7 separate regions of the Homo sapiens genome follow, and all the other regions are linked to region 1. The links are contacts of gene promoters, found by promoter capture Hi-C in blood cells and fetal thymus (Javierre and others, 2016). All regions are on one chromosome and are shown on one strand. The core of a region is centred on a gene start or on the middle of the fragment in contact, and the rest is flanking DNA. Distances in the headings are between cores, read along the strand shown. Region 1 holds the start of SH2D4B (SH2 domain containing 4B). Region 2 has its middle 370 kb from the start of LINC02655. Region 3 holds the start of TMEM254 (transmembrane protein 254). Region 4 has its middle 310 kb from the start of LINC02655. Region 5 has its middle 290 kb from the start of LINC02655. Region 6 holds the start of PLAC9 (placenta associated 9). Region 7 has its middle 270 kb from the start of LINC02655.

Region 1 (3,394 bases), core at 600-3,099:
CACACCAGTGCCTTTGAGCCCATCGGAGAGCCAGGCAAGCAGATGAGGAATGACAATGACAGGGTGGCAAATGCCAGGGCAGGCGTGGGTCCTACATGCCAGGCAGCCACAGAGGAGCAAGTACTGCCCTATGCAAGAGCATCCCTGAACACTCCAGGGCAGGGGGGCCACTCCTGATGGAGTCTGTCAGGTGGATGAAGGCAGAAGGACATTCCCAACGGTGAGAGCCACTCATGTGAAGACCAGAGACAAGAGCAAGCATGTCCAGATGATGTGGGTGTGGCCTGTGGCACCTGGTGGGGACTGGCCAGCAGTGAGCCTGGCATGGAGAAGAGCCAGATCACCAAGGGAGCTGTGTGCTCAGCCCTGAAACAGGACTTTGTTCTGGATTGAAAACTTCAAAGGGTGAAGGCACATAAGCCTTGCAAACTGTAAAGTGCATGCAGCATCCACAGAAACTACAATCCCTGGCAGGATTGAGTCCTGTGCCAAGCCAAGCCTCAGCAGCCTGCCAGTTTCTGGCCCAGGGGTCCTGGATGATTTCCTTCACCCACAGGTGTACCAGTCCATAGGATTGACTGGCACATGACTTTGCATACAAAACACCTGAAATGTAGGCTAGGCCCTTGCTTCTCATCTGCAGTTGCTACGACCATTTGGGGATGGTCATTCATTGTGTGGGACGTTCCCTGATGCCCTCTCTCCGGATGCCCAGTGGGGCTCCAGAGACAACCCACAGCATCCTCCTGCCGGAGGATCTGGAGGGAGAGGCACAGTCCACAGAAGGGGCCCTAGCCAAGAACTGGTGTGCCACGCATGCCAAGGAGAAAGGAACTGCATATCTACACCACACTCTGGCCCAGAACCAATGGCAAGGGTCACAAATATGCCGTCGTTCACCCTACCATTGCCAACCACGTCGGAGCACAATCTGAAGTCTCAATGGTGTCTTCCCAGAACTCGGGCCTTCCACAACAAGACAAAGCAAGTCCCAACTCCCCGACTCCAATAAGGGCCGCTGGACAGCCTCTGCAGCAGCCTCGAAGCCCTAAGGTCCTGGCCAAAAGGCAAAAGCACAGGCTCATGGGACCTGATGCCCACAAGACAAGGGTTTCAAGCCCCCAGCCCTCATCACCCCAGTGCCCATCTTGAAGAAGGGCACAGCCTGGCCCTGCTAATTTTTCTACCTCCTGGGGGACTGGTGGCCTACCTCTCTGTGACTCCCAGCCACGTACCTCGCTTGGTCTTTGGAGGCCTGAGACCCTCGTCCTGGGCCAGGGCCTCCCAAGTCTCCCGCTCCTTCCAGCGCCTCAGCTGCTCCTCCCGCATTTTGTAGAAGAGGATGTGCTTCTGCACATCGCTGAGCTCGGCAAGGAGCTCGGGGTCGATGTACATGTCGTGCAGGATCTGCTGCAGCATGATGCCACCTGGGATGCACGCACCAGAAGGGCAGCCAGCAGGGGAAGCAGGGCCAGGCAGAACGCCCGAGGGGCTGCTCTGCACTACGGACTGCTCAATCCGGGGCCACTCTCGGTGCCCCTTCTCTGTGCAGCATTGTCAGTTGGCCTCAGCTTGCAGCCAGCGACGAACTCATCTCCTCTACCCAGGACAGCAAAAGAGGCCAGGCAACAGGACCCAAAGGGGCAGGTGGGACTCTGCAAGGGGGAGCAACCACCAGGAGCAATCTAGTCCTTCTCCTGGGTCACCAAGCACGGCATCCCAGGAGAGCCCATGTCTTGGCATCACCTGGGGTTCTGAGACAATGGGAAGGGCCCAAGCCTCCAGCTCAGCCAGGAAATGCCCAGTCCCAGCCCTGCCTGGGCTGGTAGGTGTCGAGTGATCTGTTAGTGGAAGGTAACAATGACACCAGCTATATCAATGACACTGCCCCGGCCAGCTGGGAACTGATCTCTCCTCTGCAGATAAGAGGAGGAGAAGGAGGCAGACTTGCCTACTAAATTCCATGTCTTTTCAGCCAATTTCAAACACAGACCAGAGGAGCCTGCCAGAAGCTGCTGGGCCCCTCAGCCCTCTCAGCCCCTCTCTCTGCGGGTTCCTTCGCTGCCAACTTTCTTCCTTTCCAGAACATTTGGCATTCTGAGATGATGCGTTTAAAACTCTGCCTTGGGGGAGGAAAGATTTTTCCTCCTATCTGTGTTACAGCCAAGAAAGAAAACAAAATGGAATCAGTAGAGACAACTGGAGGGGATTTTATCTTGGAATTCCAGGACAGAAAGGAAGCAGACATCCTTTCCCTTTGGCCTATATATAATGAGATCCTGCAGCCATGCGTGGCTGACAGATAAACCCTCCAGGGGCCAGTTTTAATGGTCGTTGTTAATCTTGTTTGTTGCAGATGCCTGGAGTTGACCAAAAAGAAAGAAGATGAAACTGGCTCTTCTCTGTGCCCTGATCAGAAGCACACTGGAATGGCGGGATGTTGCCTTCTGCTGGGAGGGAAGCCACCCTCTCTTTGGTGTGTGAAGGTGGGTAGAAGCTGCCGTTGCTGAGATCTTTAGGGTGAAAGCTCACCCTAAATATGTGCTCAGAGCAAATCACAGATGCCTTCTTATTGGGACAAGGATATTGAAGCTCAGAGAAAGTAAGTGGCTTGCCTATGGCTTCCTAATGGACAAGTCACTGTATTGGGACTCCCCCGTTTTGAAATTTGACATCCACTAGCAACTATGAATCTGTTGATGGTTTGAAAACATAACCCAACCAAGGGAAAACAAACGAACCAACAGGATTTGGCACTGTGGCTTGGTTGGATTGGTGACCTTCCTGTCCCCTTCCTTGCCCATGAGGGTGGAAGGTGGATCAGGTACCCAAGAGTGATGGAAGAGGGGTGGAGAGTTGGCATTCTTCCCCCTCTGCAAGGTTAACACAACAGGAAGATGGACTAAGCAGATTCAGATGAGCTGTAAGCCCATAGGGTCAAAGCTCCTGCTCAGCTAGGCAATGTCCAGGTCACAGGAGTGGAGTCAGACGCCCCACCCCTCCCCACCCAGGTCCAGCTAGCTGGTCCCAGTGTGCCCAGACCTTCCTAGAGCCGCCACAGGACTCGCCTGTCCGCTGCAGAGCTGTGGCCCTGGACTCCCATCCACCCACCTCAGGGCTTGCACCGACTCCCCCACCGGGAGTCCTGGCTCCCCTCAGTTTCTGAGACCGGGGGTCTTCCCTAGCCTCTGCCCAGCTATTCTCTTTCTCCCCCTCGCCGTGGCTGGTGGGAGACCCCCGAGTCCAAAGAGGAGACAAGGGGAGGAAGGCCCCCAGGGTCTGGGCTCCTGCGGGCAGCTTCTTTTTGTCTTTCCCGGGCCGCCAGATACCTACGACCACAAGAGGGCACGGGGCAGGGACAACGCTGTAGGGAGCAGCAGGAATGGGCCGGCTG
Region 2 (3,394 bases), core at 644-3,143, 480 kb before region 1:
CAAAATGTAAATCAAGCTACAAAATATAATTTTGAGAAAACTGTACACAGAGGAAAATCCATAACTCAAACTGCTTTTATTATTGAGCATAAAAGGACACCAAAGAAGTGAATGAATTGTTTTTAGCAAGAAATTCATAGAATTAATCCTAAGGAAATACAGAAAGATACTCAAATAAAATGTAAATTGAAATCATTTAACTAGAACACAGAAAATAGTAGCATTGATTTTGTGGCTTAAATTTCCTTGTAACCTTCTTATATCTTTTCTTTTTTACTCTTCTATGTTTTCCGATGCTTTTTTTTTTTTATCATTTAAGGAATTTTTTTTCTTCTTCTGATTCTCAAAGTCCATTTTTTCCTGCATTCACCTGAAGATACTAGAGGCCCAATGTGTTCCTTGTTTCTAATGGGCAGTTCTGCCTCACTGCAGTAGCGTCTTCTGCCACCCACTGCTGTTTCTGGAAACTGCACTGTGATGCCCGGATGTGTGGGGAGTTGGGACAGGGTCCCCCACACTAGCCCTTCCTTGGGGCCTGACTGGGGTTGCTATTCTTACAACTTTGGGGTGTACTTTGAAAAGCAAGCCATCTGCCATCCCCGCCAAATATCAATTTTAAAATATAATAATAAAAGATATAATAATAAATTACCCAAGTATATTTTATGTTTTCTTTTTTTTTTTTTTTTTTATGTTTCTTCAAAGGAAACCTTACAGCAGGCTTTCTCAACTTCAGCTGTATTGACACTGTGGGCAGGATAATTCTTCGGCCTAGGGGCTGTCCTGTGCCTTGCAAGATGTTTAGCAGCAACTCTTGCCTCTGCCCACTAGATGTCAGTAGCACCTCCACAGTTCTGATAAACAAAAAGATCTCCAGACATTGCCAAATATCCTCCGTGGAGAAAAATTGTCCCCAAGGGAACCACTGCCCTATAGGAAGCATCTCTAGTAACCTTTGTGCAGGTCATGCCTTTCCATTGTCTGTTCGCAGGTTTCAAAATCAAGCTCAAATTAATCTCCTCTAGCTAGTCTTTTCCTGATCGCTCCAGCAACTCAGTTGCTCCCTTATTGGTTCTCCCACAGCTTCCTACACATTTCTCCACTAACACAGTAAGATATATTGCTGTGTTTTTCCTACTTGATTGCCTGCTCCACAAGTCTATAAACACGGGTCATCTTCTCACTAACAGTGCTTGTCACATAAGAGCTAGCAAATTAAGTCATTCATCTAAGATTGTATCTCCTCACAGGAAGCTTGAGATTGAGTAATTTAGACAAACAAGTGAAATGACAATAACTAGAACTCTCTATGTGATTCACTCAATAGTGAGTATATTCGTCCATTCTTGTGTTGCTATATAAAGAAATACCTGAGACTGGGTAATTTATAAAGAAAATAGTCTTAATTGGCTCATGGTTCTGCAGGCTTTACAGGAAGCATAGTGCTGGCATCTACTCAGCTTCTGGTGAAGCCTCAGGGAGGTTTCAATCATAGCGAAAGGCAAAGAGGGAATAGGCACGTCACATGTTGAAAGCAGGAGCAAGTGAGAGAGAGTCGGAGGAGAAGTGCCAGACACTTTTGAAATGACCAGACCTCACAAGAACTCATTATCATGAACACAGCACCAAGCCATAAAAGACCCGCCCCCATGACCCAAGCACCTTCCACCAGATCCCACCTCCAGCATTGGGGATTACAATTCAACACAAGATTTGGCAGGGACATGCATTCAAACTCCATCAGTGGGCATTTTATTCTGTGCCTGGAACTTGACTAAGTATTTATATGTAGTATCTGATTTTATTTAAATCTTCGTAATGCTCCTGGGAGGTATAGTGTAATCCTCATTTTCTGAGTGAGAAGCCAAAGCATGGAGAAGATTAGCAGCTTGCAAAGGACAGCATCATTTATACATATGGAGGATTTGAACCTTGATCTATCTAGCTTCCAAGTCAACACTTTTTAAACATATTGAAATATAACACCAATGCAGAAAAGTGCATAAAGCATAAATATAAAATTCCATGGACAGAGGTGGACCAAGATCACTGTTAGAGTGATCTGCACTGACTTCAGGCAATAAGGGGGCACGTTCTCTGCAGAAAACTTAAAAACAATTTAAAAAATAACTAAAATTGGTCTGCTTTTAATCATCACTCTGGGCCAGAATTTCTGAGCAATGTCAGTGATAGAATATTCTTCATTGAATAAAATATCCTGTGTTGATTTAAATTCTAAACAATAGTGTGCTTACTACTGAGTCTTAAGTATATATGTGTGTGAGTGTGTGTAAAATTAGCACTATTATTATGTATTCTTTAATAAACTCTGAGTTCAACATGGACACTAATCCAGAGAACTTCCAGTTACATGGTTAGGTCCCAACACAAGGGTACAAGCTACAAACATTCTTTCAAGAGTTAAATTTATAATTGTTATGGGCCGAATTCTGTGCCACCCCTACCCAAATTCATGTTGAAGCCCTAACCCCCAGCACCTCAGAATGAGACTGTATTTGAAGACAAAGCTTTTAAAAAGGAAAGTAATTGAAAATAAGGTCGCTAAGATGCCCTTAATCCAATCTGACTGGTGTCTTGATACAAGGAGATCAGGACACATGGGGAGACATCAGAGATGTGCACACACAGAGGAAATGCTATGTGAGGACTCGGCCAGAAGGCAGCCATCTGCAGGACAAGGAGAGGAGCCTCAGGAGAACCCAGCCCTGCTGACACCTTGATCCTGGACTTACTTTCAGCCCTCAGAACTGTGAGAAATTAAATTTCTATTGTTTAACCCACCCACTCTGTGGTATCTTGCTATGGCAGCCTTAGCAAACAAATACAATAATGGTTTCCAATTGCATGCTTTGGGAACAGTGAGTCTCCAACACATGATATGATATTAGAAATCAGCAATAATCACACCATGACTATAAAAATGAAGAAATAGAATTCTATTTAATTGAATTATTAAATATGACTACTTGGAGATTTTATGTATGTTAAAATGTAAAACAGTGAAACAGGGAGCCAACTGTAAAGTATAATATTATTTGAATTTTATTCTTCTGCTTTAGTTGTTTTAAAACTAAAGATGAATCCCTAAAATATGGATTATTCATTGATTATTGTGATTATTAATAAAAATAATTTCATCACCTAGAAAGAGGATTGGGAAACTCCCTTATTATCTATTCTGGTAGTCAGATTATCTATTCTAGTTGTCAAATATGCTAGGTATGCAACCGTTCAATGAGATATCACGAAACAAACACCTATATAACTGCCATCAAGTTTTAAGAAATCGAATATTGACAGTTCCTTGGGTGTCTTCTTGGTGCCCTCTCCACTGTACTACCTCTCTCTCCTTCTTAAATGTAACAAATGTCTT
Region 3 (3,394 bases), core at 257-2,756, 460 kb after region 1:
GAAGTCCCCAAAGCTTTCCTCCAACTATATTCTAACTAGTCACAGACACTAAATCGTAGAACAGAAATGCACCTTTGAAAATTTTCAGTTCAACACCTCCATTGTACATATGGGGAAATCAGGACATAGGTTGTCAGATTTGACACCAACAAACAACACTGTGGACAAGACAAATCTCCAATCTCCAGGATCTATTGGTATACCCAAATAGCTTCGCCTTCCTTCAAAATTTTACCACCTTATCACTTGACGTTAGGAGTTCGAGGCCAGCCTCACCAATACCCATGTCTACTAAAAACACAAAAAAATAGCTGGGCATAGTGTAATCCCAGCTACAGGTAAAGACATGAGAATCGCTTGAACCTGGGAAGCAGAGGTTGCAGTGAGCCGAGATCGCCCCACTGCACTCCAGCCTGGGTGACAGAGCGAGACTCCGTCTCAAAAAAACACAAAACTACCACCTTAGCCCCCAACCTACTTTTCCACGCATCTTTCTCGTTATCCTTTAAACAGATTATTTCTCAGCCAAACAAACGTCGCTCTTTTTCTAGGTACAGCTTTCTTCTTGCTTCCACACCTATGTCAGAACAGTTATAGCCTCTTTATCCTCCCTTACCACTTAAATCCTACCCATCCTTTAGATTTATCCCCGTTTTCCAAACAATTCCTATTGGCTCAAACATTCTGCTTCGGAAGCCCTATTCTGACTTGGCAGGCCTATGGCAGTCTGTTAACTTGACTTTCCGCTTCGTGAGAGGCTTAGGCTCGGATAACCCGTTAGTAACCATGCAGAGGTGAGGACCCAAAGACAGGAACACTAGAAAGCAGAAACTATCCTAAGAGCCCACCGAATTTCCGCTTACATGAGTAACCGAGACAACCGTCAGATGCGCGTGCGCACAGGCCCCGTTCCCAGAGCTCCCCTCGCCCTACGAGGGCCCGGCGGGCCAAAACAGAGGCCCGCCCCGCCCCACCCCACGCCTCACCGCGAAGTAGCCCAGCCCCAGGACTGTGACCAGAGAGGGCAAGGGTCTTGCTGGACGGAAATAGGCGGTAGCCGCATTGCTGGCCTCCGACTTCACCATCCTCTTGAAAAACCCAGACACAGAGTTGGCTGGGAGCTCCCCAGCCGTCCCCGCCCCCATATAAGAAAAGCCTGGCTAGCCGGTTTCTCAGGGCCCTGGGCGCCCGCCCAAGACCCTGGCGGACCAGTATGCTTGCTCTCATTGCGGAGTCTGGTCCCCTCCCCTCCGCTCCTAGCGCGCGGGAGTCGGGATTGTGCTTGCACGACTTCCCCCGGCCCGCGGCCTGTGAGCCCAGGTCCTGGGGTGAACCGAGCGCTCGCTCGTTCGTCAGACCGTAGCGCTCCAGCGGCTGTCCTTACTGTGTAGTAGCCAAAGCTGAGGGTGATGACTGTGAACCAGAACAGACTGCCTCGCTGAAAGTAGGTCGCGCCGGCTGCCGTAGCCATGGCTGCAACACCTCCCCGGGAGCGCGCTTCAGGACACCGTCGAGCGCGAGCGCGGAGGCAGGGCCGGGGCCGGCCCGCGCTCCCTCGCCATCCCCGCAGGGAGAAGATGGTGCTGGTTGGGAAGTCCCTGAGAGCGAGTCTCCCTGTCTGGCCCCAGTACAGGGGCCTTGGAATCACACCTGGGCTCAGGTCTGGAGGGCTGGTCATCATCTTGTAGGGGAGACACTCCTGTCACTTTTCTGGGTTTAAGATAAAGATGTTCGGGCTGGCGCGGTGGCGTGTCCCTGTAATCTCAGCACGTTGGGAGGCTGAGGTAGAAAGATCCCTTGAGCCCAGGAGTTTGAGACCAGCCCGGGTAACATAGCTAGACTCTGTCTCGAATGAATGAATGAATGAATGAGGTGTTGGAATAAATTCCAGCAATTTGGGAGGCCGAGTCGGGCAGATCACTTGAGGTCAGGAGTTTGAGACCAGCGTGGTCAACATGGTGAAACCCCGTCTGTACTAAAAATACAAAAAATTTGCTGGGCGCGGTGGTGCCTGCCTGTAGTCCCAGCAACTCCAGAGGCTGAGACAAGACTCTCTTGAACCTGAGAGGTGCAGGTTGCAGTGGGCCCAGATCACGCCACTGCACTCCAGCCTGGGCAACACAGCAAGACCCTGTCTCAAAAAAAAAAAAAAAAGATGGTGTTTTACTAAGAGTCTAATTTTTGAAGTTCTCTGTGCTGTGCACCTTGAGAAATAATGCTGTCCTCATTAGTTAAGATGTTTGGAACTATACAGCACCATGGTTATGAGCAGGGACTGTGAAACAGGCTGCCTGGATTTAAGTCCTGGCTCTGTCTCGGCTATTTGTGTAAGCTTAGATTAATTACTTAGCCCGGCTGTGTCTTAGTTTCTGTATCTGTAACATGAGGATATGCCAGTTTTGGGAACCTCAGGGTTTTTAGGGTGGGTTAAATGAGTTGATATCTGTAAAGAAAGCACAGCAGTGTCTGGCCCATAGTGCTTTGTAAGTGTGGGTGATTATCAATACTGCTGAGCCTTTAGCATGTGTGCCAGGCCCTGTGCGAACTGTTGTATCATCAATGAGCTGTGGGAGGTATATGCAGCTGAAGTGTCTGATTAAACACTATTTAATCATAGAAATAGAAAATCATAGAAATAGAAAAACTATTTCACCTGGGCCTTAAAAATGGGTTACTGGCCAAGCGCAGTGGCTCAAGCCTATAATCCTGGCACTTTTGGAGGCCGAGGTGGGTGGATCGCTCAGGAGTTCGAGACCACCCTGGAGAACATGGTGAAACCCTGTCTCTACTAAAATACAAAAAATTAGCTGGGGGTGGTGGCGCGTGTCTATAGTCCCAACTACTTGGGAGGCTGAGGCACGAGAATTGCTTGAGCACCGGAGGCGGAGGTTGCAGTGAGCCGAGATCCAATCACTGCACTTCAGCTTGGGCTATAGAGTGAGACTCCGTCAAAAAAAAAAAAAAAAAGTTACTATACTGTAGCTGGTATTTATTGAACACCTACTATGTTCAAGGCATTGTTCTAAGTACTATACAATAATTAACTAATTTAATTCTTAAAACAATCCTAGGCAGTAAACTATTGTCCTTATTTCAAAGAAGAAGAAACAGCACAGGGTCCTGTCATGCCCAAGTGGGTGAGGAATACTGGAAAACAATTGGCAGCTGAGTGTTCCAGTTCCAGAGAGGGCACTCTGGAACCAACCAAGGTTCTCTTTCCTCATTTTTTACGTGAGTATCTTGGGATATAAAGTCTTAAAGAATGAATTTCAGAATATGTGAGGAAATCCATTTCCCAGGTAGACCACAGTGCTCTTGAATATCAAGATTAACAGTAACAATTGTAACAATTGGTGTTTTCTTAGTCCTTATCATCCTTGATCACACCACCCTC
Region 4 (3,394 bases), core at 413-2,912, 420 kb before region 1:
GCTGGGATTACAGGTAGGCACCACCACACCTGGCTAATTTTTGTATTTTTAGTAAAGACGGGGTTTTGTCATGTTGGCCAAGCTGGTCTCAAACTCCTGGCCTTATGTGATCCTCCTGCCTCAGCTTCCCAAAGTGCTGGGATTACAGGCATGAGCCACCACACCCAGCCACATGTCAATAATTCAATCCTCACATCAACTTTATGAAGTAGTCACTATTATTACCTCAGTTTTACCCAAATAAGGAAAATGACGCACATAGAAGTTAAAGAAATTACCCAAATTACACAGATGATAAATACATATGTATTTCCACATGTTAATAAATGCATAGGATAATTTCTAAGACATGTGAGTCAAATAGAAACACATCTTAAATTTTGAATGATATGGTCAAATTGTCCTTTAAATGAGGCTGTATTAATTATATACTCTCTTCAACAGAATATGAAATTTCTAGAATTCTTCCATTCACCAGTGTTGGGCATTATAAAACTTGGTAATATGCGACAGTTTAATAAGTGAACAAATCAAATTATTGTTTTGTTTACAGTACTTTCATTATGAATAATTCTAGCAATTTTTAATATAATTTTTAGCTATTTGTAGTCCTTCTGTGAACTGTCTATACTATAAATGTTCTTTGCTATTGAGTTGTGAACTTGTAGGATTGCCTAATATGCCAAAGAAAATAACCCTTTGACTATTATATATTTTGCAAATATGTTTTCCCAGTTTTGCTTTTTACTTCCCTTCCAAAATTTTTGCAACTACCCTGTTGAGGTACTAAATTTAATTTTTATGTACAGTCCACTGCCTCCAAAAAAGAAAATACTGCTTCACTTTTCTTTATTTATTCCCTTGCATCTGTCTTTATGCCTGCCAAACTTCCTCTCTCTCTGTGTCTTGTTCTCTGCCCCTCCCTGACTCCTTCCTTTCTTCGTTTTCTTTCTTTCTACTTTGATCTCAGTAGAAACAGTTGAGTTAATCATACTGCTTAGATTAAAGAATACTATTATCACATTTGCATGTTATATGCCCCAATTGTTGCATTTTATTGTACCCCTCCAACCCAGTCCCCACTACCTTTCCTGCCCTACTTTTTCCATCCCATAAAAAGAAGATGCTGGATGCATGACCTTGGTAAAGGCTCATCTGGAGGGAAATTTGATGATTTCTGTTTATCAATCTAATTGTAATCTCTCTTTATATATACATACATACAATTATGCATTTTGTCATTTTATCTTTTTTTATCGTTTAAACCATTTCTACTATCAAATAAGCTTCTTCTCCAGATTTCTTAGAAAACAATGAAATCTAAAAATTAAAAATTACTTTTCACATTAGGGATAAAGAAAAATATTTAAAGTATGAGGATAGTAATTTATACTGGATTGCAAAATAAAAATACAGTGTATTGAGATTAATTATTTAACATTTTATAATTCACCTTTTGTTATTTTAAATAAAACATTTTAATTTACATAAATGACATTGTGCTATAGGCCTTTTTCTATTTATTAATAGCTTCACACAACATTGTATTTTAAAATCTGTCCATATGGCTTTATATCCATGCATCCCATTTTTATTATTCATTATAATGAATGTGGGCACCTCTGTTGCTCATCTCAAACTGTGTCATGATAAGCATTCTCACCCTTGTCTGCCTATGACCTGAGTGAGTGGGAGCCTGGCTCATATGGAATACCCATTCTTCATTTCTCTAAGTACTGCCAGATTGCTCTCTCAAAAGACAGTATGAATTTACACTTTCAATAGCTGTAACATGTTTTTTCTCTATATCTTGGTCAACACCAGAAATTATTCAACATTCCAATCTTTGCCAATATTGGGTATAAAATTAGATTTCTTTTGAATTACATTTATCTGCTTATAACTAAGAGTGAGAATCTTCTCAGTTTCTGTTAACTGTTCAAGTTCCTCATCTTTTCAAAGTCTAATAGTTGTAGTAGTTGGCAGTTAATGATGAAGTGACTAGCAACTCAAGTTAAATATCTCAGGGTAAGCTTCTGAATCCAAGTTATGGTGTCTCAACTATATTTAAATTAGCAGCTCATTGTCTGTCTTCCTAGCTAGGACTGATATTCATTCAGATGCACTAATCTAACTGTATGGGTTTTTCACCTTGCTGTTCACTCTGATTGATCAGATACTACTTTTAATTATGCAATATCTATATCAAATGAGCTGTTGATTATTTTTAATATTATCCTTGTTTCTAGCACCTAAAATGAAACAAAACTCTTCTCATACCTTCCTTCTATCTCCCATAAAAACACTTTAATAGCAATGTAACAAAATTATCTTAAACATTTGCATCTATGCCTATAAATTTGAAAATCAGCAAGGCAGAGAAATGGAATTTGTGAGGAAATGGATTTGAAAGCTACAAAATAATTGCTCCTAAAATCAATAAGTGGGTGGCACTGTAAAATGGTTCAAACATTTGGAAAGAATTATAAAAATTCAAGTGATGGTTTCTTTGATCCAGCAATTGACTCCTAATTTGCTACCTGAAACAACTGCAAAGAAGAAAATTGGCTTCACCCAAAGATATTCACTGCAGTCACTCTATCTGGAGAGAAGAAAGTTATATTTAAAAAGAAGGTTAATTTGATACTAGTTAAAACTAGATGCACCTGAGTAAAGCCCAAACATGGAATTTGTCATTTTATTTTTAATTTTAATTTTATGTTACTATTTTTGTTATTTTAATTGTAAGTAAAGATTGAAAAAAGATAATCATTGAAAAGACATAATGTTTACTCTTAAGACATAATAAATGTAAAACTATCTTAATGCTATTAAGCAAGTCTTAAGGGATAAATAGGGGATAAATAGATGGAGCATGTTTGAACAAGGCAGAGGTGAACGATGAGAGAAATGATAGAGCTCAGAAACTCTAACATGAAAATTCAGATTTTTAAGGAGAGCAATTTTGGTTTTATATATTATATGGATCTTCAAGAACTGATCTAAAATGAAATGTGTGTTGAGCATTCTATTAAGAATCAGCACAGTGTCAAGAAATGCTATCTGCATCCATAATTGTAAGACTCAAATTAAAATATCGACCCAACTTTGCCTCCTCAACATCTGAACAACGACTTGCTTGTTAAGCCTTATTTTCTCTAAGATTGCTGAGTTGCGATAAAGAGGAAGCATTCACAAAAGCAGGTAAAGATTTCTCTTTTAGCGTGTGTGACCCCAATCCATCTTTTGAGTGAATTCTCAGTTTGTGTGAGAACATAACCCTGCTCTTACATAAATCCATATCTGAATGATGAAAGATAATGGATTAACTCTCTTCAGGTTTCATGATTGGAATAGCATGCTTATCTGTTTAAATAGGAACCCCTGAATGTCG
Region 5 (3,394 bases), core at 472-2,971, 400 kb before region 1:
CCTGATGGTACCCTGATCTCACACAGTATTGGATAATCAAAGTAATGAAATAAATACTTATTTTAAAACTACATACCTGAGCTATAAGTATTTAGCTATTAAAACATTAAACTAATATAAAGCCAAATACACATAGAATCATAGAATAATGATGCATTTCAAAAAACATGAAAAGCTGGAAATATTAATATTCTGAGAGGGCCATAGAGCTATGCTGAAAATCTCTGAATTCATGTTGAATTGTAACTTCAAATTGCATGAGGACGCTAAGTTGAGCAAAAGATTAACCAATTTTGGCACTTCGGTACCTGAGACAGAGGAAGTAACTGAAGGAATAAATTAGAACAAAAAGGGGAAAAAAGAAGGAAGAATATGTGGATTAAGTATCCTAAGTTTTAAATATAATACGTTATTTTTGTGAAGTTATAAAAAATAATGTAAATTCACAGAAGAAAAATTGGAAAAAAAAGAGACAAAAAATAAATCCAAAATCTCCACAAGCCTTCTACTATGCAATTGAAATTAACTTTGTGTTCAGGTTTTCAATTTTCTTCTATATGATTACAATTTTTTCACTGTTTTATAACTTTATTCTTTAATAAGATAGGATCGAAGACAGTAAGTAATTCTAATGTGTTGATATTTTGAACATTATTAATGTGTTCTCTCTCTTACCTTATCCATCTTTCTGCAGGCAGTTGAACATATGTTTCAGAAGAAATGGAAAGAACAAAGCAATAATCAGCTTCTGATAAGAAAACTAGGATTTTGCCACAAGAAAATTAGCTTGAGAGGCAAGCATTTTGAGACAGGATTTTCAAAATTTCTTTATCTCCTCTATTTAAAATTGCAGCGGCCGTGCCTGACAGATACATACTTACAGAGTTCTCCCACAGTTTGGCAGAGATAGACCTTCTACACAGGACAATAAATTCATAAAGCTTTTCTCTTGATGATAGGAGGCTATGACAGAGGAGACGTAATAGGAAAAGAGAAAGACAGAAAAAAAGGCATTGAGACAAGCAGATAAATGGCCCTGCTTCATCTCAGGTTTGGCCATGACCTGTTGACCAGGGAGATGTGGCTCTTCCTGAGCCATTCCTAGTTTCCGTGTGATAGACATGGGATTCAAAGATGTTGTGAGTCCTGCTGTGGAGCATGTTGAAGGGCACCAGGAAGGGAGCAAGGGGAGTCTCTAGCAGCTGCCACAAAGCACTTCCTCTGAACTGAACCACAGCAGAGACCCAGCCAAACGTCAGTCTTCTTCTGCCAGGGAGACACAAGGTGGGCACAGCAGAGTCAGCCAAAGAGAACAGAGGCCCAACATAGCTGAGAATGATGGGCATATGACTTATATTAGTCAAAATTTTCTGTCTTGAATGCCAGCGGGGCCAACAGTTCAGGCAGAAGGAATATTGTCCTGAAGACCAGCAGACTAAGCATAAATTAAAAGTCACCATGAAGATTAGAGGATCATTTTTCCCGTCCAATGCCATGTGTTCTCCTAAATCACCTCCTGGATGCAATTTCAAACATATCCTCCCATCTGAGAGAAGGAAGCATGAGGAGGGGAAGAAATTAAGACAAACAGTATTTTTTATGAAAAAGTGACTCAATATTACCCAAAGTTACCATTTAAGTTATCAGCCTGGACTAGGCTTAAAGCAAGACTAAACACAGGTCATTCTTCCCACTAACCTGTGGGTAGGGACTTGAGAGAGAAGGTTGTATAAATTATAGATAAAAATTAAGAAAAGTACATTTTTTCTACACATCAGAGTCATACTTTGAATTTCATTTTGCAATTCAACACATGATTACTTCCAAGACAATTTTAAGAGATACATGGCATTTCCTTTCATGGTATTTCATATCATGTGTTAGTTATCTATTGTTGCCATAACAAATTACCACAAACTTAGCAGCTTAAATAAGGCCTATTTATTATCTTGCAGTTTCTGAGGGTCTTACAAGGCTGAAATCGAAGTATTGGCAGGGGCTGCAGTTCTCACCTGGGGCTTGGGACCCTCTTCCAAGCTCACTAGCTATGGGCAGAATTCTGTTCCTTGCAATTGTAGGATTGATGCTCCTGTTTTTGGACAGAGTATCTCTTTCATCTTCAAGCCAACAATAATGGCAAATCTTTCTTGTGCTTCCTATATCTCTGGCTTCCCCTTCTACTGCCCCTCTCTGCCTTCCTCCTCTGCTTTTAGGGCCTCGAGTGTTTACACTGGGCCACCTAAATATCCAGGATAATTTTCCTATTTAAATATAAACTAACTAGTAACCCATCTGCAAATTCCCTTTTGCCACTTAACACAACATAACCACAGGAGTAACACCAAGGTAGCAGAGATTACAGGGACCAAAATTCTGTCTACTACACATGATGTATCTCAAATAATTTGTTTTGCTAATTGCCTACCATTATCCATTCAGGCTCTTTATTTCTTTGCTTGTGATACACAATTAAACAATCAACAACCTTGCATAAAGCTTCAGCACAGGACCTTGGACCAGGAATTTTGCAGAGGAATAGTGGCTGATCTTGTCCTCAAGCAGCATGACATACATTAAATATTTGCAGGCATTCAGCTCACGGGGACCTTCCATACTTGCAAATAACTGACAGTCATTAGAGTTAGGTGAAGCTGTAGAAAGACTAAGTAAGGCACTGTACTGTCAAGCACCACTGATGCACAACTCATCCACATCTTACAGGCTCCAGTTCTCCTTGGAGAGCACATCCTGAATACCATGGTGGTATAAATAAAGAGAAAGTCATCTTTTTCAACAGTCTCTGCTGTCTGACTGCACATGATTAAGTTGGAGTCTTACATACTTGGCCAGGATGCCATAGTTACAATACTTACACCAGGGAAAGGCAGAGCAAGCAAGCCAGAATCATGATGGCCCCATGGGCCCACTAAGCCCCAGGCTTCAGGCTGCAGATGTTATGTTATATAAGACCACAAACATGGCTTTGATAGGGGGAGGGTGAGTCCAGCCCAAGGAACCAGTACAGGATCTCACACAAGGTTTCAAAAAGAAGTTTGAAGAAATCCCTTCCAGTCCCCAGTTTAACTTCATGAAGTAGGTAAGATCCCTCATAATCCCTCTGCCAAACTCTTTAAGCCCATCCTAAATAAACAAAGCAAACTGCAAATAAAAAGTTGTGTATGACCACAGATGCTAAGAAAATAGTTATATGTAAAAAGGAGCTCTATAAACAACCTGATATTAATGAATTTTAAAATCTCAGTTAACTCGATAACTGTATAAACAATTTTTAATTATAAAATGTACTCAGAATTAAGTAGAAATATTTATTTGCCAACTTTAGCATATAGAGATGACAGGTCAAATCACTGGAAAATTTGTCAAATTCTGTAAG
Region 6 (3,394 bases), core at 438-2,937, 410 kb after region 1:
TGGTGCGTGCCTGTAGTCCCAGCTACTCAGGAGGCTGAGGCAGGAGAATCAGTTGAACCCGGGAGACGGAGGTTGCAGTGAGCTGAGATTGTGCCACTGCATTCTAGCATGGGTGACAGAATGAAATCCTGTCTCAAAAAAAAAAAAAAAAGAAAGAAAGAAAGAAAGAAAATATACAATGCCTGGATTTCCTTTAAAATAATCCAGGGAGGGGAGAGAGGGTGGAGGCTATAGATGAGATAAAACTGCCCATGAACTGATACTTCTTGAAGCAGCGTTGATAAGTATATTACATGATTCTTTCACATACTATTACTTTGTATTTTTTTGTATCCAAAAGTTTTCATAATCAAAAGTTAAGATATATCATCTAAAATCTGAAAGATTATGCACAAAAATATATGAAATCAGTGTGAAATTACACTAATACATGAATACTTTCCTCCTTTCCTTCTTCTTTTTTTTTTTTTTTTGAAACTGAGTCTTGCTCTGTCACCCAGGCTGGATTGCGGTGGCTTGATCTCGGCTCACTGCAACCTCCGCCTCCCAGGTTCAAGTGATTCTCCTGCCTCAGCCTGCCGAGTAGCTGGGACTACAGGCATGTGCCACCACGCCCGATTAATTTTTTGTATTTTTAATAGAGACAGCATTTCACCATGTTAGCGAGGCTGGTCTTGATCTCCTGAGCTTGTGATCCGCCCGCCTGAGGGGTAGGTGAGGGGAAGAAAGCGGACAGTGAAAAGCAAGGAACCCAGCTAATGGAGTACCCAGACAGCCTCTCTCCTCCGCACAGCTCTCCACCTCCACCCAGTCCCCCATCTCCACCCAACATAGCTCAGTTTCCCAGAGAAGCTCCCTGGAAACCGGGAGGCTGACTTCTTCACTGACTGCAGATCCACCTGAGGCCACCTGGCAGGTGAATCGGTGGCCTTTCTCCTGGGCCCGACTGCCTGGTTCCTTAAGGCTGTGCTGGGCTAGCCTGGGTCACTCATCCTTTGGAGTGTGGCTTCTTATGCAATGTCCTATAAAGCCAGGCCTGAGCCTCCACAGGCCCTCTGAGATGGAGCTGGCCTCCGGGGCTGCCCCACCCAGCAGCTGTGACCTCCCACTCCAGATCCTGGCTCCTTCTCTCTTGCCAGCTCTACTCCGGGCATCGAGCTTCCCTCTCTCTCCTTTTTGGTCTCTCTCAAATCTTTCTCTTTTCTTCAATATCCTCTCTCCCTCCACCCCTTGCCATTTTAATCACTTTTTCTCTTTCCTTCTTCTCTTTTGTCTCTCAAACTCCTTTTTCTTTCTATCTTAGTTCATATCTGTTCAGGGGAAGCCTCTTTCTGTCTCAGCCTCTCCTTTTTCCTTTTCACTGTGTATTCTTCCCTATCTCCTTTATCTCTCCGTTGCTCTACTTCTCTGCCTTTTTCTGAGTCTGTTTCCTCTCAATCTTTCTCTCCATCCCTCCCTCCCTGCATCTGCCTCTCTGTCCATCTCGCTGCTGTGTCCAGCTCTCTCTCCGTCTCTCTCGCTCATTCCTTCCTCGCCATCTGCGGGTCTCCCCGGCTCCAGGTCCCCTGCCGCGCCCTGCGCCCCACTCACCGGCCAAAGAGCCCGCGGCGCGGAGCAGGGCCAGTCCGGTCAGCGCGCAGAGCAGGGGCCGCATGGTGCCGGCCTGGCCGAGCGCAGCGCCGCGTCTGCCCGCAGCCGCCCTTCCCGGATCGCACCCGGCCGGCCCGAGAGGAAATGCACTCAGTTCGAGCCAAAATTCCTGGGCGGCTCCGGACTTTCTGGCTCGAGAGAACCCGCCCCCTCCAGAGGCCCCTCGGCACCCCGTGGGCAGCGCGGAGCCCAGAGACCCCGGGAGCTGAGGCACCGACGTGCCACCTGGGCGCCTCCCGAGGAAGGGGCCGCCCCCCGAGTCCCCGCACCTCCTGGGAGCCCGGGAGGGAAGGCGGGGCGGGGGGCATTGGGTGAGGTCTTGGGCTCAAGGCGACCGAGCCTGGGGTCAGGGGTTTGTTACGAGCCAGTTTCACAGGCGGGCAGACTAAGACTCGGAGGGAAGTGTCTTCCTCGGCATCACTCTCAGCCATAGCACAGGATCTGAACCCCTGTCTCCTGGGAGTTTGGCAGCTTTTCTCTGTCTACCTACGAACAAGAAATTAATTCTAATTACATGGAACAGTGTCTGCCCCTAAGAGGGAGACCCAGAAACTCACTGCTCTGGTAAGGGAGTGATAGAAATATGAAAAGGTAATTTTAAAAAGAAAAGGTAAAATCGTAACTCTCGCAAAGATATGAAATTAGCATATACTAAAGATTTTATTCAATTCATTATTAATGAGGGGATAAGTAAGATGGTACAAGCAGCCCAAAGTTTAGAGCACAGTAGTGGAAACTTCCCCTATGGGACATGCCCATCCAACAAGTGCAACAACAAATTAAGTTTTAGTAAAAACACAAAGCAAAAAAGCTGTAGCTCTAACTTCTCTGCTGCAGAGCCCTGAGTGAGTGTCTCGTCTGGCTGTAAGTGGAACACATTCATCACCAAGCCTGGGAGAATGCCTTTGTCCATCAAGGGTCCCCGTTGGGATTACCTGGAGCTCTTGCAGATCAAGGCTGCCTCTCTGCCTTCTGTGTTCCTGGCTGTGGCTATGCAATTGTCCAAAACAGTTACCACGCTAACCAGTGATCCAGTTCTCACTCCCTCCTCCAGAGCAAGATAGTAGCCTCAGACGGAGAAATTCTGGTTCTGAGCCCGAGAATCTGAGACAGACTCAGATCTAAATCTTTTAAAAGCCTTCAAGGAGATTATGATGCCCACATGAGCTGGCTCAGAAGAAGAATTTATTTCAGGAATGCCAAAAATTTCTCACGCTTGGTGGTAGGACATTCCTTGATAGTTTCGCCAGGTGGGAAAAAAAGTTGTCAAAGAACTGCCCAACTCATAAGGATTCTTGTAGCTTAGAGCCAGTGGGCTACCTTATATTTTGAATTTAAGACTAAGAAAACACACACACACACAAAAACATATACAATACATTATTGTTGCGGTAGAGCATAAAGTAATTAAGTATACAGAGTAAAACATGAAAGTCTTTTCTGTTACGAATTCCCTCCGTCCAATGATTCAGGTCCAGTCCCCTCAACTTGGTAGGCTCTGCCTGTTCCACGTCTATGCATTCCCCATCTACCTAATGTATATTCAGACACAAATGTATATACATGAGATCAAGTCATAGATATTTTGAAGATTTGCTTTCATTCATGTTTATCTCAGTCATAACATTAAATCTTGGCTGGGTGCAGTGGCTCACGCCTGTAATCCCAGCACTTTGGTAGGCCGAGGTGGGTGGATCACCTGAGGCCAGGAGTTTGAGACCAACCTGGCCAACGTGGTGAAACT
Region 7 (3,394 bases), core at 568-3,067, 380 kb before region 1:
TTTGGTGGTGTCAGTGTTTGGATTTCAGTCAATCCAAGAGGTATGTAGTGGTATTTAATTGTTATTTTAATTTGAATTCTCTTAATGACATATAATGTTGAGCATCTTTTCATATGTTTATTTGCCATCTGTATATCTTCTTTGGTAAGATGTCTGTTCAGATCTTTAGCTAATTTTTAATTGGGTTGTTTACTTACTTACTGTTGAATTTTACCAATAACCTTTTACTTTTGTGATAATTATCAACAATATTACTAATAATGAGACCAAACATTTATAACTACTTACCAAGTACCAGATGTTGTGACAACTGTTTTATAGACATTATTTCATGTAATCCTCATTATAATGCTATTATTTTATCTACTTTTGTTCATGAGTAAGTGGCTCAGAGAGGTTCAAGAACTTATCTAGGATCACACAGTAAATAAGCACTAGAGCTAGAATTGCAAACCAATTCTCAAATTTCTAGGACCATAACCATAACCACTGCAAGACACTCTTTACCTTCCTTTCACTGATGATGACAGGCTTATTTCTTCTGGTTAAGCTAGGAACATCAAAAGGGTGGAAGGGGTAGTGTGCTGGAAGTGGGGATGGATGAATGCATCAATCAGTACCTATATCTATAGCTATCTAAATCTGATTGGAAACTGGAGATAAGAAAGGCATCTACATCTAAAGAGAAAACAAAAAGCCTGGAGAACAGATTCTACTTAAAGTTGACTACTTTGAATGCTATTTTTTTTTTTTAGAGAAATTAAATTTTCGCCTACAGTCAAATTGACAACAGTTTAAAGTGTGAGGTTTTTTTTTTTTCTCTCTCTCTCAAGTCACTAATGGGGCAATTAGCAATTTCTAATTTGGTCTGTTACTCACTTTCATGTGAATCAATTATTAACCCAAGTAAGTCGATCATCATAATTCATTTAGCATATGAGGGCTTCTTCCTTTAGAGACATGTATACATCTCTGGACACCAAGGCAATTTATAGAAATTATACATGTTATACAAATGTCATGTAAAAGATGAAAATAAGGCTGTTTATTAAACTTAGCACAGTTCCTGTGCTTATACTAATGCATAGTGATTAGAATTCTATTCATTGGGGATGAAAACATTTGACCATTTCAGGCTGCCACTACAGTCCTCCTGGCTTCTCTCACTTCTACACCTTCTCCTCCTCTGGCTGCTCCTTGTGGTTTTACATAATTATTAAAATTCCACTCCTAGTGAAGCTGTTACATTGTCTGGGGTATATACCTAGGATTCATCATCTCGCGGCAGAAAAATTGAGGACACGGAGACACACCAGGAGTTTAGGAATGGAGGTTTAATAGGCAGAAGAAAAGGGAGAGAAAAACAGCTCTCTCTATTGAGAGAAAGGAGCCTTCCCAGCAGAAAAGACTGACTAGTGGCGGATGCACATTTTATAGTCCAGCTTGAGGAAGCGGTGTCTGATTTAGGTAGGGCTCACAGATTGGTTCCATCAGGTGTAACGTTTACATAGCGCTCAGAGAAGGCTGGTCGCCCCACCCTAACCTTACGATGCAAATAAACTCTCCTTGGCCAGTGCCATCTTGTCTGCTCTTTACTGCACACGTGGCTGGTAGACAAGGGAAGATGGAGCTGCCATCTTTAACACATCTAGTCCCTAGTTCCTGCCGGCATTCACCCATGCAAGCTCCCAGCTTGCTTGTCTATGTTTGCAGCTCTACTTTACAGACTGCTCTTTGTTAGGAAATGATTTGGGGCTGCTTTTCATTAAAAAGAAAAGCCTTACAGAGGACTCCCATACCTTTACTGTCTGCCTAAGTGATTTCTTCTTAACTCCTATATCACTAGAATAGGAACGAAATTATTTTCACCTTCCTCAGGAAGACTCTCTAGTGGAATCAGGCCTGAAAGAGACGTTTCCAGCCTTTACTTCTCATCCTGCAATCTCAGCACCCCCAACAGGCCAGTGCTTGAAAATGAGGGGTTCCTGCTGCTGAACACCCCAGCTCACATTTTGGCCCCACTCAGATTCTTCCCTGAGCCTCAAGCCTTCGGGCCACATTCCTCCTTTCCCTCACTGCTTTCCTTGATTCTAAGTCTTAAACTACCCTCCCCCTTTAATCTTCCCTCTCCACCAAATCACCCTCCTTCCTTGTTTTGAAATATAAATCCATTGAATGTATTACTCAAAACATTCACTGCTTTTCTCTCTGAGAAAAAGAGACAGAGAAGAATATGAACAGGAAGTGATGAAAACCAGTGCAGGGAAATGCCCAATATTCTAGCAAAGTATGCCAATTTTGGAGTTCTCATCTCTCAGCTACAGTTTTTGACAACATGATGCTACGTACAGATAACCTGAAGGTCTTTTGTTTTCTTTCACTTGGGAACATGACTCTCTTAAATTCCCTTTATCCAGACATAAGCACCTTCCTAACCCTCACCACAACAAACAAAAGCTACTATTCATTAAACACAGACTAGGAGTAAGACATTGGGATGGTGTTTTTGTTGTTATCTTATTTCAGCCTCTTTGTATTATCTTCATTTTTATAGATAAGAAAACTGAGGTTCAAACACATTAGTCATTTGCACCCAAACACAAAATGCTTGTACAGTACTGAACAAGGACATGAAGCCATGTCTTTCTGATTCCTGAATCCACCCTCACTTTACTTCATTGTCTGCTCTCTCCAGAAATAATGTTAGGATATTAGATAAAAATAAATGGCATTTAGGCATCCTCTCATCCTAAACAGGTCATGTCATCTGTGGCCAGGCTGCTAACGCAGTCACTCCGCACCATGCTCTAACACCCCTTCTCTCTTAAGTAGACAAGAAGGAGGGAGCACATTCTTGTTGAGCTGTATTTCAGCAAGGGAATCAAGTCATTTCCTCATCTATATTGTGAAATATAAAACTCTCTAAGGCCCTATCCTCTAGTTCATAAGTCTCTCTACAAGAGAAACCTTGCCTAATACATCACTCTATATATAGCACACTCCATGTAGAGCACAGAAGAATTCTGGATGTCTAGCAGGTGCTTGACATTTTTATTTTATTTTTTATTAAAATGCTGAACTTCGCTATTCACATCTATAATTCAAGGATGCTGTTTCATCATTTTCCAAATCAATAATAATAAAAACAATAACTGGAGAAAATATCCCAAACTTAAATGGCATCTAATTTAATATAGATATTATGAAACACTTCAAATAAAATTTCTCATTAATTCCTCTTCCAGCCTGTCAGTTAGCAAATAAAGGAAATATAGAGGGAATTTTGGTCTTATTAAATTGTCCAAAATTATAAAGTTCTGGAATATACATTCAAATCCATGACTTGGTTTCCTCTTAATTTTTTAGTTTTAACAAATAGGGCTTTATTTCCCTG

The links. The method cuts DNA at HindIII sites, captures the fragments that hold promoters and counts their contacts. A CHiCAGO score of 5 or more calls a contact.
Region 2: a contact is called between a fragment that was not itself captured here and the fragment with the promoter of SH2D4B in region 1, in 3 of 17 cell types (M2 macrophages, M0 macrophages and M1 macrophages). The highest score is 13.2, in M2 macrophages.
Region 3: the fragment with the promoter of TMEM254 here is called in contact with the fragment with the promoter of SH2D4B in region 1 in 3 of 17 cell types (naive CD8 T cells, activated CD4 T cells and non-activated CD4 T cells); the score reaches 7.6 in naive CD8 T cells.
Region 4: a fragment that was not itself captured here is called in contact with the fragment with the promoter of SH2D4B in region 1 in 2 of 17 cell types (M0 macrophages and M2 macrophages); the score reaches 6.4 in M0 macrophages.
Region 5: a fragment that was not itself captured here is called in contact with the fragment with the promoter of SH2D4B in region 1 in 4 of 17 cell types (M2 macrophages, M0 macrophages, M1 macrophages and 1 more); the score reaches 11.6 in M2 macrophages.
Region 6: the fragment with the promoter of PLAC9 here is called in contact with the fragment with the promoter of SH2D4B in region 1 in 5 of 17 cell types (naive CD8 T cells, fetal thymus, neutrophils and 2 more); the score reaches 10.4 in naive CD8 T cells.
Region 7: a fragment that was not itself captured here is called in contact with the fragment with the promoter of SH2D4B in region 1 in 3 of 17 cell types (M2 macrophages, M0 macrophages and M1 macrophages); the score reaches 10.9 in M2 macrophages.

The regions. Positions count from the first base shown.
Region 1 is chr10:80,536,357-80,539,750 of GRCh38, reverse strand. SH2D4B (SH2 domain containing 4B) reads right to left here and starts at 1,849. Exons shown (of 8, transcript NM_001388272.1): 1 at 1,236-1,849. The coding sequence starts at 1,419. RefSeq lists an enhancer at 6-145. The HindIII fragment of the contact is 17,935 bases long and covers 1-3,394 here.
Region 2 is chr10:81,016,760-81,020,153 of GRCh38, reverse strand. No RefSeq gene overlaps it. Among named protein-coding and RNA genes, the nearest start is that of LINC02655, 370 kb to the right of the region's middle. The HindIII fragment of the contact is 1,274 bases long and covers 1,257-2,530 here.
Region 3 is chr10:80,076,777-80,080,170 of GRCh38, reverse strand. It overlaps TMEM254 (transmembrane protein 254), which reads right to left and starts at 1,506. Exons shown (of 4, transcript NM_025125.4): 1 at 1,385-1,506. The coding sequence starts at 1,471. TMEM254-AS1 (TMEM254 antisense RNA 1) reads left to right here and starts at 978. Exons shown (of 4, transcript NR_027432.1): 1 at 978-1,444. The HindIII fragment of the contact is 2,319 bases long and covers 16-2,334 here.
Region 4 is chr10:80,958,992-80,962,385 of GRCh38, reverse strand. No RefSeq gene overlaps it. Among named protein-coding and RNA genes, the nearest start is that of LINC02655, 310 kb to the right of the region's middle. The HindIII fragment of the contact is 747 bases long and covers 1,289-2,035 here.
Region 5 is chr10:80,940,388-80,943,781 of GRCh38, reverse strand. It overlaps the pseudogene WARS2P1. Among named protein-coding and RNA genes, the nearest start is that of LINC02655, 290 kb to the right of the region's middle. The HindIII fragment of the contact is 1,555 bases long and covers 944-2,498 here.
Region 6 is chr10:80,131,023-80,134,416 of GRCh38, reverse strand. It overlaps PLAC9 (placenta associated 9), which reads right to left and starts at 1,687. Exons shown (of 4, transcript NM_001012973.3): 1 at 1,591-1,687. The coding sequence starts at 1,654. The HindIII fragment of the contact is 6,415 bases long and covers 1-3,394 here.
Region 7 is chr10:80,918,668-80,922,061 of GRCh38, reverse strand. No RefSeq gene overlaps it. Among named protein-coding and RNA genes, the nearest start is that of LINC02655, 270 kb to the right of the region's middle. The HindIII fragment of the contact is 6,328 bases long and covers 1-3,394 here.